2 separate regions of the Homo sapiens genome follow, and region 1 is linked to region 2. The links are contacts of gene promoters, found by promoter capture Hi-C in blood cells and fetal thymus (Javierre and others, 2016). All regions are on one chromosome and are shown on one strand. Each heading gives the region's core, a stretch centred on a gene start or on the middle of the fragment in contact. The rest is flanking DNA. Distances are from core to core; before and after follow the strand shown. Region 1 overlaps SPATS1 (spermatogenesis associated serine rich 1). Region 2 holds the start of TMEM151B (transmembrane protein 151B).

The links. Contacts are between HindIII fragments. The CHiCAGO score rates a contact against its expected background, and 5 or more counts as called.
Region 1: a fragment that was not itself captured here is called in contact with the fragment with the promoter of TMEM151B in region 2 in 1 of 17 cell types (M2 macrophages); the score reaches 5.1 in M2 macrophages.

What each region holds. Positions count from the first base shown.
Region 1 is chr6:44,345,883-44,350,894 of GRCh38, reverse strand. The region is part of intron 2 of SPATS1 (spermatogenesis associated serine rich 1); the gene reads right to left. Among named protein-coding and RNA genes, the nearest start is that of SPATS1, 5.7 kb to the right of the region's middle. The HindIII fragment of the contact is 4,347 bases long and covers 1,057-5,012 here.
Region 2 is chr6:44,267,772-44,272,830 of GRCh38, reverse strand. It overlaps TMEM151B (transmembrane protein 151B), which reads right to left and starts at 2,381. Exons shown (of 3, transcript NM_001137560.2): 1 at 1,954-2,381. The coding sequence starts at 2,088. The HindIII fragment of the contact is 13,529 bases long and covers 1-5,059 here.

The sequences.
Region 1 (5,012 bases), core at 1,981-4,480, 77 kb before region 2:
GCCTCAGCCTCCTAAAGTGTTGGGATTACAGGTGTAAGCCACGACACCCAGACTTGTTGTTTCCTTTTTGAATATTTACTATGGGCAGTTGGTCGAATCTGCCAATGCAGAACCCGTTGATATGACTGTATAGTGTAAACTATGCAAATTCCCACCATCTATCAGCAGGACTGCTACTCAGAGAATTTTTTATTCATTTCCTCTCAAATTCATATCACAAGTGAATAATACCTTTTCCATTCTTATCAAGTCCCGATCTATCACCAAACCTTTCACTCCTAAGAGGACTTTGCCTGTTACTCTACAAAGCTTAAAGTTCAGCTGAGCTACTCCCTCCCTTCAAAATCCTCCCACTCTGGGGCTTCTCAGGACATGGCGCAAGGCCTATCTGCATCAGAATTACCCAGGAAGCCTGTTAAAAATACAGATTCTCAAATTCCATCGCAGACCTATTGAATTAGAATCTCTCCAAGTGAGGCCTGGGAACCTGCATTTTAAATAAGCCCCCACCCTCACCCCTGCTCTTCATTTAGGCTCACGTTTGGCAGTAATCTCCTTCTTGAAGTCTAGTTCCATCACTGCACTGTATTTTATCCAGTTCCACTTCCAGATTCCCAACTGCACAGAACTTCCTGAATTTGCCCAGTCACGAGAATCCCCTTGGGGTACTTGTTCAATATGCAGGCCCCAGGGCTCTGACTCAGACCTACAGTCTGGGAGCCAGGATATTTAAGAAGCACCTCAGGTGATTCTTAGGGTCAGCCAAGTGTGGGAAGTGCTGCTCTGGAATATGCCCTAGAGCCTAGAGCAGCCCCCAGCACAGTGAGGTCCAACTGGTTGCTTGAGGTGTAACTGGGATGGAGTCAAGCCCAGGGGAGGTGGCAGGCAAGCAGCAGGTGAGGATGAGGAGACGGGTCCCCAGTAACCAAAGGAAGAACCACCCATATACCAAGCCACAAAACAAGTATCAACAATACATAGACCACACTCTCTGACCACAATGCAATACAATTAGAAATCAATAATAAAAAGACAGCCAAAAAGTATCCATAAGCTTGGAAACTCAAACCACACTTCTAAATAATTCACATACAAGAAGAAATTGTAATGGAAATCATGAGTTGCTTAATGATCAATGAACATTGAGTACTATATATCAAAACTTGTGGGATTCAACTAAAGCAGTAATTAGAAATCTGGGGCCTTGAATGCATATGCTGTATTTCACTGAATATAAGGCACCATCAATTGTAATAGCATCGTTATTTTATGTATCACAAAGAACAAAGGCTGCCAATTAAAGTATGATACATGCTTTTATCACTTAGAATTTTTATTTTATACTTATTGATGCATTCTTTTAATTTATTTATAGATTTTAATCACATATCACTCATGCACATATATAAAGAAGGAAAATATAAGCACAATAGACTGGTTAAGGCATTCCTAAATCTTATGCACATTCAGAAATCTGACTACTAAACCACTTTCAACTCAATCACTATTGTCCACACTTTCCACCTAATACTGACCTAATATTTCAATAAAAATGTGAGTTGAGTGATGCAGCATTTCTTTCTTTTTTTTTTTTTTTTTTTTTTTTGAGCCAGAGTCGCCCAGGCTGGAGTGCAATGGCATAATCTCGGCTCACTGCAACCTCCAACTCCAGGGTTCAAGCAATTCTCCTGCCTCAGCCTCCCGAGTAGCTGGGATTACAGGTGCATGCCACCACACCCAGCTTATTTATTTATTCATTTCTTGGAGACAGAGTCTCGCTCTGTCCCCCCGGCTGGAGTGCAGTAGTGCAATCTCAGCTCACTGCAACCTCCGCCTCTTGGGTTCAAGCGATTCTCCTGTCTCAGCCTCCCGAGTAGCTGGGATTACAGGTGCCCACCATCATGCCTGGCTAATTTTTGTATTTTTAGTAGAGACGGGGTTTCACCATGTTGGCCAAGCTGGTCTCAAACGCCACACCTCAGGTCACCCACCCATCTCAGCCTCCCAAAGTGCTGGGATTACAGGCGCAGTGGCGCCAGGACCAATTTTTGTATTTTTAGTAGAGATGAGGTTTCAACATATTGGCCAGGCTGGTCTCTTAGCCAGGCTGGTCTCGAACTCCTGACCTCATGATCTGCCTGCCTTGGCCTCCCAAAGTGCTGGTATTACAGGCGTGAGCCACCGCGCAAAAGTGCTTCTCTACTGTCTCTGGAGTTTTTTCCAAGCTATGAACACACGTTCTACATGCTTCAGTGCTCATACAGCAAAAATTATTACAACTACATCCTACCTGCTGCTGGGCCCACAGACCTGGTAACATCCAGTCCCTACTTCAAAGATGCAAACTGTCTATCCAAGAATTGATGGATTATAGTGTTCAAAATCAAAAATTCCAAAATGAATGAGCCAAGTTGTCAATTTAAGAAATAAGAAAAAAAAAAGAGTAACCCCTCTCCCCCCGAAAAGATTTTAAGGAATAAAATCATAAAAGCAGAAATGAATGAAATAAAGATTATCAGAACTATGGCTTCATGCAAAAGCTGATAATGCAGATAAACAAGGTTCAAGAAAAAATTTTAAACACAAATAAATAATATTAGAGCCTGGACTGTAATCCCAGCACTTTGGGAGGCCAAGGCAGGTGGATCACCTGAGGTCAGGAGTTCAAGACTGCCTGGCCCAACATGGTGAAACTCCGTCTCTACCAAAAATACAAAAATCAGCCGGGCATGGTGGTGCACGCCTGTAATCCCCGTTACTCAGGAGGCTGAGGCAGGAGAATCGCTTGATCCCAGGAGGCGGGGGTTACAGTGACCTGAGATCATGCCACACTGCACTACAGCCTGAGCAACAGAGTGAGACTCCATCCCAAAAAAAAAACAAAAATAATAATAATAATAGAAATGAAACAAGGCCATAATTATAAATAAAATAGAGATAAATTTACAGATAAAGAAATTAAGCTCCAGAAATGTCAAATAACTTGTTCAGGGTTACATAGCCATGGAGTATAATTTATAAAATGTAGTCTAATGTTCAAATAATCAAGACAGTACTGACAAAAACCCTAACAGACAAATCAATAGAACAAAATAGTAAACATAAATAGAATAAAATTGTATATGAAAACAAGTGGCATTTTATCTTGGTGAAGAAAGGATGGGTTATTCAAAAAATATTGCTGGAACAACTAATTAACCATTTGGAATAAAAATAAAATTAATCCTTTCTTATCCCAAACTGGAAAATCCAGATGACTCACAGATTTGAATGTAAAAATTGAAATTAAAGATGTACCCGAAAAAAGTAAGTGAAAGTTTATATAATCTTAGAGTGAAGAAGTTATTGCCAAGAAGATACCAAATACAGGCAAAATAAAGGAAAAGAGGCATAGATTTGAATATGCCTCTTTAAATATAAACTTAAAACTTTCATAGCAAACTATAAACTGGGGGAAAATCTATAACAACATGATAGAAAGAAAAAAGAGTGAGTAGTCATGACAAATTATGAGCTTTTTTTTTATACTTTAAGTTCTGAGGTACATGTGTAAAACGTACAGGTTTGTTACATAGTTATACACATGCCACGGTAGTTTGCTGCACCCATCAACCCGTCGTCTACATTAGGTATTTCTCCTAATGCTATCCTTCTCCCCTCCCCCAACCCCACGACAGGCCCCAGTGTGTGATATTCCCCTCCCTGTGTCCATGTGTTCTCATTGTTCAACTCCCACTTATAAGTAAGAACATGCAGTGTTTGGTTTTCCATTTTTGCGTTAGTTTGGTGAGAATGAGGGTTTCCAGCTTCATCTATGTCCCTGCAAAGGACATGAACTCATCCTTTTTTATGGCTGCATAGTATTCCATGGTGTATATGTGCCACGTTTTCTCTATCCAGTCTATCATTGATGGACATTTGGGTTGGTTCCAAGTCTTTGCTATGTGAACAGTGCCGCAATAAACATACGTGTACATGTGTCTTTACAGTAGAATGATTTATAATCCTTTGGGTACATACCCAGTAATGGGATTGCTGGGTCAAATGGTATTTCTAGTTCTAGATCCTTGAGGAATTGCCACACTGTCTTCCACAATGGTTGAACTAATTTACACTCCTTGAGCTTTTATAAATTTATAAGATGAAAATAAATATCCAAAAAGAAAAAAAAAGGGCAAAAGATGTGATCAGGTAACTTATTTTTAAAAACAGGCTGGACAAGGTGGCTTATGCCTGCAATCTCAGCACTTCGGGAGGCTGCGGCAGGTAGACTGCTTGAAGCTAGGAGTTCAAGACCAGCCTAGGCAACATATGGAGACCTGGTCTCTACAAAAAACTAAAAAGTTAGCTGGGCGTGGTGTTGCACACCTGTGGTCCCAGCTACTTGAGAGGCTGACATGAGGACTGCTTGAGCTGGAGAGGTCGAGTCTGCAGTGAGCCCTGATCATACCACTGCACTCCAACCTGGGTGACAGAGTGAGACCCCATCTCAGAATAAGATAAAATAAAATAACACATACATATAGCCAATATGTATTTGGGGGAAATTTCATCCATCCTAATAATTGGGTTTGGGGGAGTGGGTGGTTATTTTGTGGGTTTGTTTTTTTTTTTGAGACAGGGTCTTGTTCTGTCACCCAGGCTGGAGTGATCTCGGTTCACTGCAACCTCTGCCCCTAGGACTCAAGTGATGCTCCCACCCCAGCCTCCCAAGTAGCTGGGACCATGGGCACACACCAGCATGTCCAGCTATTTTTTTGTTGTTGTTGTATTTTTTGTAGAGATGGGGTCTCACCATGTTGCCCAGGCTGCTCTCAAACTCCTGAGCTCAAGTGATCCACCCACCTCAAAAGTGCTGGGATTACAGGCATGAGACACTGTACGTGGCCCCATCCAAATAATTGAAGAACCGAATTTAAAATGAGATGCCATTATTTGTTATCCGTTTGCAAACACCCAGGTGTTTGGCACAGCTTGGAGGAATGGCATTCCTATCATTGCTGGTGGGAATG
Region 2 (5,059 bases), core at 1,132-3,631:
GTACAGGAGAGTGCAGAGAGAGACACCCCAAGAGGCAGAGAAGGATCAGAGCCAGAGATAGAGGCCCAGGCAGCAAACACAGATGGATAGGATGGTACCCAGAGAGCATCCGAAGACAAACACAAAAATGGCAATGAAACAGAAGATGTGGACAGGGAAGACAGGGGAGGACAGACAGACAGGCATCAGCGAAGGAAGGTCCCCAGCCCAGACCCCTTCCAGGTCCTCTAGAAAAGGGGGAGGGACCCACTGACATCACTTCCCCACTTAACAAGTGGGGCCCTCACTTCCAGATTTTTTTCAGTCCTAGGTTCTAGAGGAGCTACTCCCCTCTGACCCATCCACCTCCCTAACCCTCACAATTAGCCTAACACGTCCTTTGGATAAGGGCCTCCAGAGAACCCCAGGCCCAGTCTCATTCCCCATGTTCTGGACCCTGGTTCCCCTGTGAGTCTCCCTCCTGCACCCTGACATCCTTCCCTTTGTCCTAGGATGGGAGGGAGGGGGCTGGGGTCCCTGAGCGGCAGGCAGTCCAGGAGGAGGTATCCAGAAGGGCAGAGGCATGTGGCTGAGGAGAGGACAGGCATAGGGGATGTGGGACTGGGGTAGCGAGGACAACGTTTGAAGCCCAGCAATTTATCAAGAGAAAATTATTTTTGGTACTCTCCTGGAGCCTGTCTGTTAAAGCTCCTGGCACATTCTGTCCCAGGGTTGGCCCAGGAGTTGTTTACATGTCTGGCTCCCCACTACACTGGGTACTCCTGAGGGCCCATGCTTCATTCTCTTTGCATCCTAGGTGCCTACCATGGTGCTGGCCCCCAGCAGCCACATCCTAATTGAGTGTTGAGTTTAATTTCTTGTAGTGGCCTCTGTTTTCCCACCCCTCCTCTGTGCTGTCTAGCTTTAGGAACCCATCCCCCACCACACACACACACACACACACACACACAACCTCCTGCTGGGATCCTGACTTACCCCCTCAATTCCTCAGGCCTGACCTAGAGGCCAGCCAGGAAAGAGAGGAAAAGAGTGGAAAAGAAGGGTACAGTAATAGGCATCGGTCCCTGGATCTAGAAGTATGGATAGTTAGGCGAGCTAGGAAATAGCACACAGTACATGTGGACAAGGAGATTAGGGTACATGTGCCTTTCGGGGAGCCTTGTCCTTAGGAGGTATGAACATACGGGCCCCTTCGTGTGCCTACCTGGTTATGTGCTTGTCCCCATGTGGGTACCTCTGAAAGGGGCTTTACCTGCAGGCCCATCCCCGCTTGTGTGCCTCTGCCCTAGTACAGGGTGCATGCGTGTGCACAAGTGTGCATGGGAGGCTGGAGTGGGGGTGCTCCTGGTACTTTCCTCCGTCTCTTTGTCTTCAGGTTCAGAGGACTGAGTACTAGGGACCCCAACTAGGGATATGAGGAAGCAGCAGGAGCCTCGTGAGAGAGAGGTGCACACCCCCCCCCACACACACACACACACACTCCCAATGACCACAGGCGGGACCCCCCGTACACATCTGACCTCCTTAGGGTCCCAGATCAGGTACCACCACCACTTCCCCATGGTACCCTCCTCGTTCTGTAGCCCGTACAAGCCGCCCTTCCTGGCCTTCAAGGTAGCATCCTCCTCTGTGAGACAGGATCCCCGCCACCGTCCCCACCCCGGTAGAGCATAGCCCCCACTCTCATAAGCCCAGGATCCGCGAGGCTCCGCCCCTAGGCCCCTCCCCCTGCCCGGGACCCCTGAGCCCCGCCCCCGGCGCGGCCCCTTCCCCGGCACCGCGGACAGCTCCGGCCGCCGGGTGGGGGCGGCGGCGCGGACTGCGGCTGCAGCGGCCGGCTCGGGGTGCGGGGCGCCGGCCGCGCTGCGGCGGAACCAGCGGGGGACGCGTGCGATGGGGGATGGGGGGCCAGGCTGCGGCCGCGCCCGGGGAAGGGGCGCCCTAGACTCTCACCTCCTCTCGGGCGGGGCCCTCGTCCGCCGCCGCCGCTGCCGCCGCCGCCGTGAGCTCCTCCGAGACCCCGGGGCCGCCACCGCCGCCGCCGCCGCCGGCGGCGCTCTCTCCCGCGGCCGAGCCAGGGGGGGACATGGCGTAGAGGGGGCGCGTCGAGCTCAGGACCTCCCGGGGGGCTGCCAGGGGCCGGGGGCATCCTGCGCGGGCCCTGGGGAGAGGACGGGAGGGGGCGGGGCCCTCGCTGCTCCCCACCCCCCGCCGGGGGAGGGGGCCCGGAAAGGGCACCGGGAGTAAGGGGCTGGGGGCTGAGGGTGGGAGGCAGGCTGGGGGGCCGGGCCGGGGGGGGCCGGGGCCGGGGGCGGGTGTCACCTTGAGGCCCTCGCGGCGCCGCTCCGCCTCCCGCCCGCTCCCGCCGCCGCCTTTTGTCTGAGCCGAGCTGGAGCCAGCGCGCCCCCCCTTTCCTGCCAGCGCAGCCGAGCCCCGCCCCCAGCCCCCCAAACTCCGCCTTCCCAAGCCTACCTAATAACCACCCCCCGAAGGGGTAAAGCAACAGGGACTCCCCACACCTCTTCCCCGCTCCCAGCCCTGCTCACTGCACCTCCCTCCCGCGCTCCTATCCTGGGAGAATCTGTGCCGCAACCCCTCTCCATCTGTTCTCCGTGGACTCGGTGCCCGAGGTTCAACCAACAGCACCCCCCCACACACACACACATCTCTGGTTCCCCCAAGTTCCCAGGGCAGAGGAGTGGGGAGAGGAAATTGATTCTTGGAACCCTAGGGAAGATCCTTACTCCCAGTTTCGTGGTGAAGGGTTAAGGCAGAAGCTAGACTTCCAGAGGAATGGAATAGGGGGAAAGGGAAGAGATTGAAGCTAGATGTGGGAAAGGACTAACAGAGGGCAGAGGGGAGGGCATTGGAACCGGCCTTCACTGAACCATCTTTCTTCCCTAAAAGAACAGCTCCAGAGAAGCAGTGAAGTGTGTGCAATACCCTAGGCTGGAGGGCAGGAAACCTGAGTTCTAATTCTGAATTCTGTATCTGTCATTAAGGAGTTATGTGACCTTGGGCAAGTGCCTTCCTGTCTCTGAGCCTTAATTTCTTCATCTGTGCAGTGAGGAAGTTGACTGGACAATTTCTAAGGCTCTGACTTGTAGGTGTAGGAAGCAAGCCAGGCTGAGCCACTGCAGGCAGCCTATCCTTTCAGGCCATCCACCCCACACTGCTTTTCCCTGTATCCCCTGGCACAGCAGGAAGGACCCTGACATTTATTCATTCATTCATTTCTGGATGTCTCCATTCAGTAAACAGGTGTTGGGTACCTATTGTGTGCCCAGTACAGAAATGAAACACAGTTTCCTTCCTGCAAGGAGCACAAAGTCTAATGGGGAGAAAAGAACATGAAAAACAACCATTATGAAGAATATAATAAAAGCCATGCATGATCAATCTTGTGCATACACAGTCACTGTGGAATCCTACTATGTGTCATTAGAGTCTTTGACATACAGTAACTGTTCTCCCCAATTACTCACAGGGAACCAAGGCAGAGGGAGAGTGAATGGCTTACTCAAGGTCACCTGCTAGCACTCACAGAGCTAGTCCTAGAATTCAGATCTTTCCCACTCAAAATCTATGGGGAATATTTGTGGGTAGGAAGTTAGTTTGGGGCAAAGCCTCGATGTCTGATTTTGGGGGATAGGGTACAAACACACTGATCTGCCCAGGATGTTCCTTCCCCTTGTTGGGGACAGGAGAGCCACTGCTCCCACCCCTCTAGTCCCACTCCTGGCCCTGCCTTCATTTTACTACTCTTCCCTTTCCAGGTGAGGTGAAGGTGGCTCTCTGTCCACCTATTGCTTAGAGCTATCCAGCCTGCATGGTCCTCTCCAGGTTGATGGGTCCATTCTCCCTGCCCAGAGGAAGGCGGCTGTCCAGAAGAGGCGGGGGTCTGGTTCACTCCCTTGGCAGAGGCAGAATCTCACTTGGTGGTTCATTCCAGCATCTCCTGCCCATGCTTTTTGGGAAGCTGGCCTCACAGCTAACTCCAGCCCCTCTTGTTCCAGTTTCAACCCCTTCCCCCACAGAGAGCAGAGCCCCTAACCTTGGCCTTTCCAAACCCACAGAGGATCCTTTCGTGCTCCCCATTTAGGCACCATAATCTTCCTCTTGACACCCACCCCCACTGCCTTCCTGTCTCCACTTCAAAGGGCTTTGGAGGAGGGACAGTTTAGCTCTTTTTGGCCAATGCTAGAGCTCCCAAGAGACAAAAGGCTACCCCTGCCTTCTCCATTCACACACAGTACCCTTCCCTGGAAGCTACAAGAAAGGGGGGTGAAGGAGGGGGCGGTGGAAGGAGCCAGCTGACCGGCTGGTCACCATGGAAACCAGGCCTGTTTCCTGAAGATGAGCCTAGCTGGGGTGGGTGGAGGTGGGGAGTGGGGGCACAAAGGGAACCAGAAAACAACAGAGAGAAAGACGAGGGGCCCAGCCTCAGAGAAGACTGGAGCTGAGGAGGCGAGGTCAGGTCCCTAGCCATGCTGTGGCCTAAGTCAAAGTCCCCAGGTCACCCTTTCAGATAACACTGCAATGGTCCCCCTCCCCATTCCTGGAGTGTTGGAAAGGATTCCTGTCAAGAGTGCAAGCTCTGGTAGTGGGGCCAGTGGGTGACTCAATGCTGACCTCATGTGGCCATAAAAGGGACTGCCACACACCTGTTACGGCTCAGAGCCAAACACCTGGCTGGGTTAAGTGGGTTTTTCCTAAAATTCAGCCTCTGTATGAATAAAAAGGAGGTCCTTGCACACTCCTGAGTTCTTACATCCTTGCAGAGGGCTCAGACACTCCCACCCTATGTGGTTTACCTCTTGATAAAGAAAAGAAGGTTCCACTAAAAAATATGTAAAAGTTTTGGATTAGATGAGAAGCCATCTCTGCACTTTCTATTTTAACTTGAGCAAGTCAACTCACCTCTCTGGGCCTCAGTTTCCCAACATTAAAATGGGGATGATAGTGTCAGATTTCGTGTGGATTTTTTTGTTTTTGTTTTTGTTTTTAGACTGAGTCTCACTCTGTTGCCCAGGCTGGAGTGCAGTGGTGTGATCTCAGC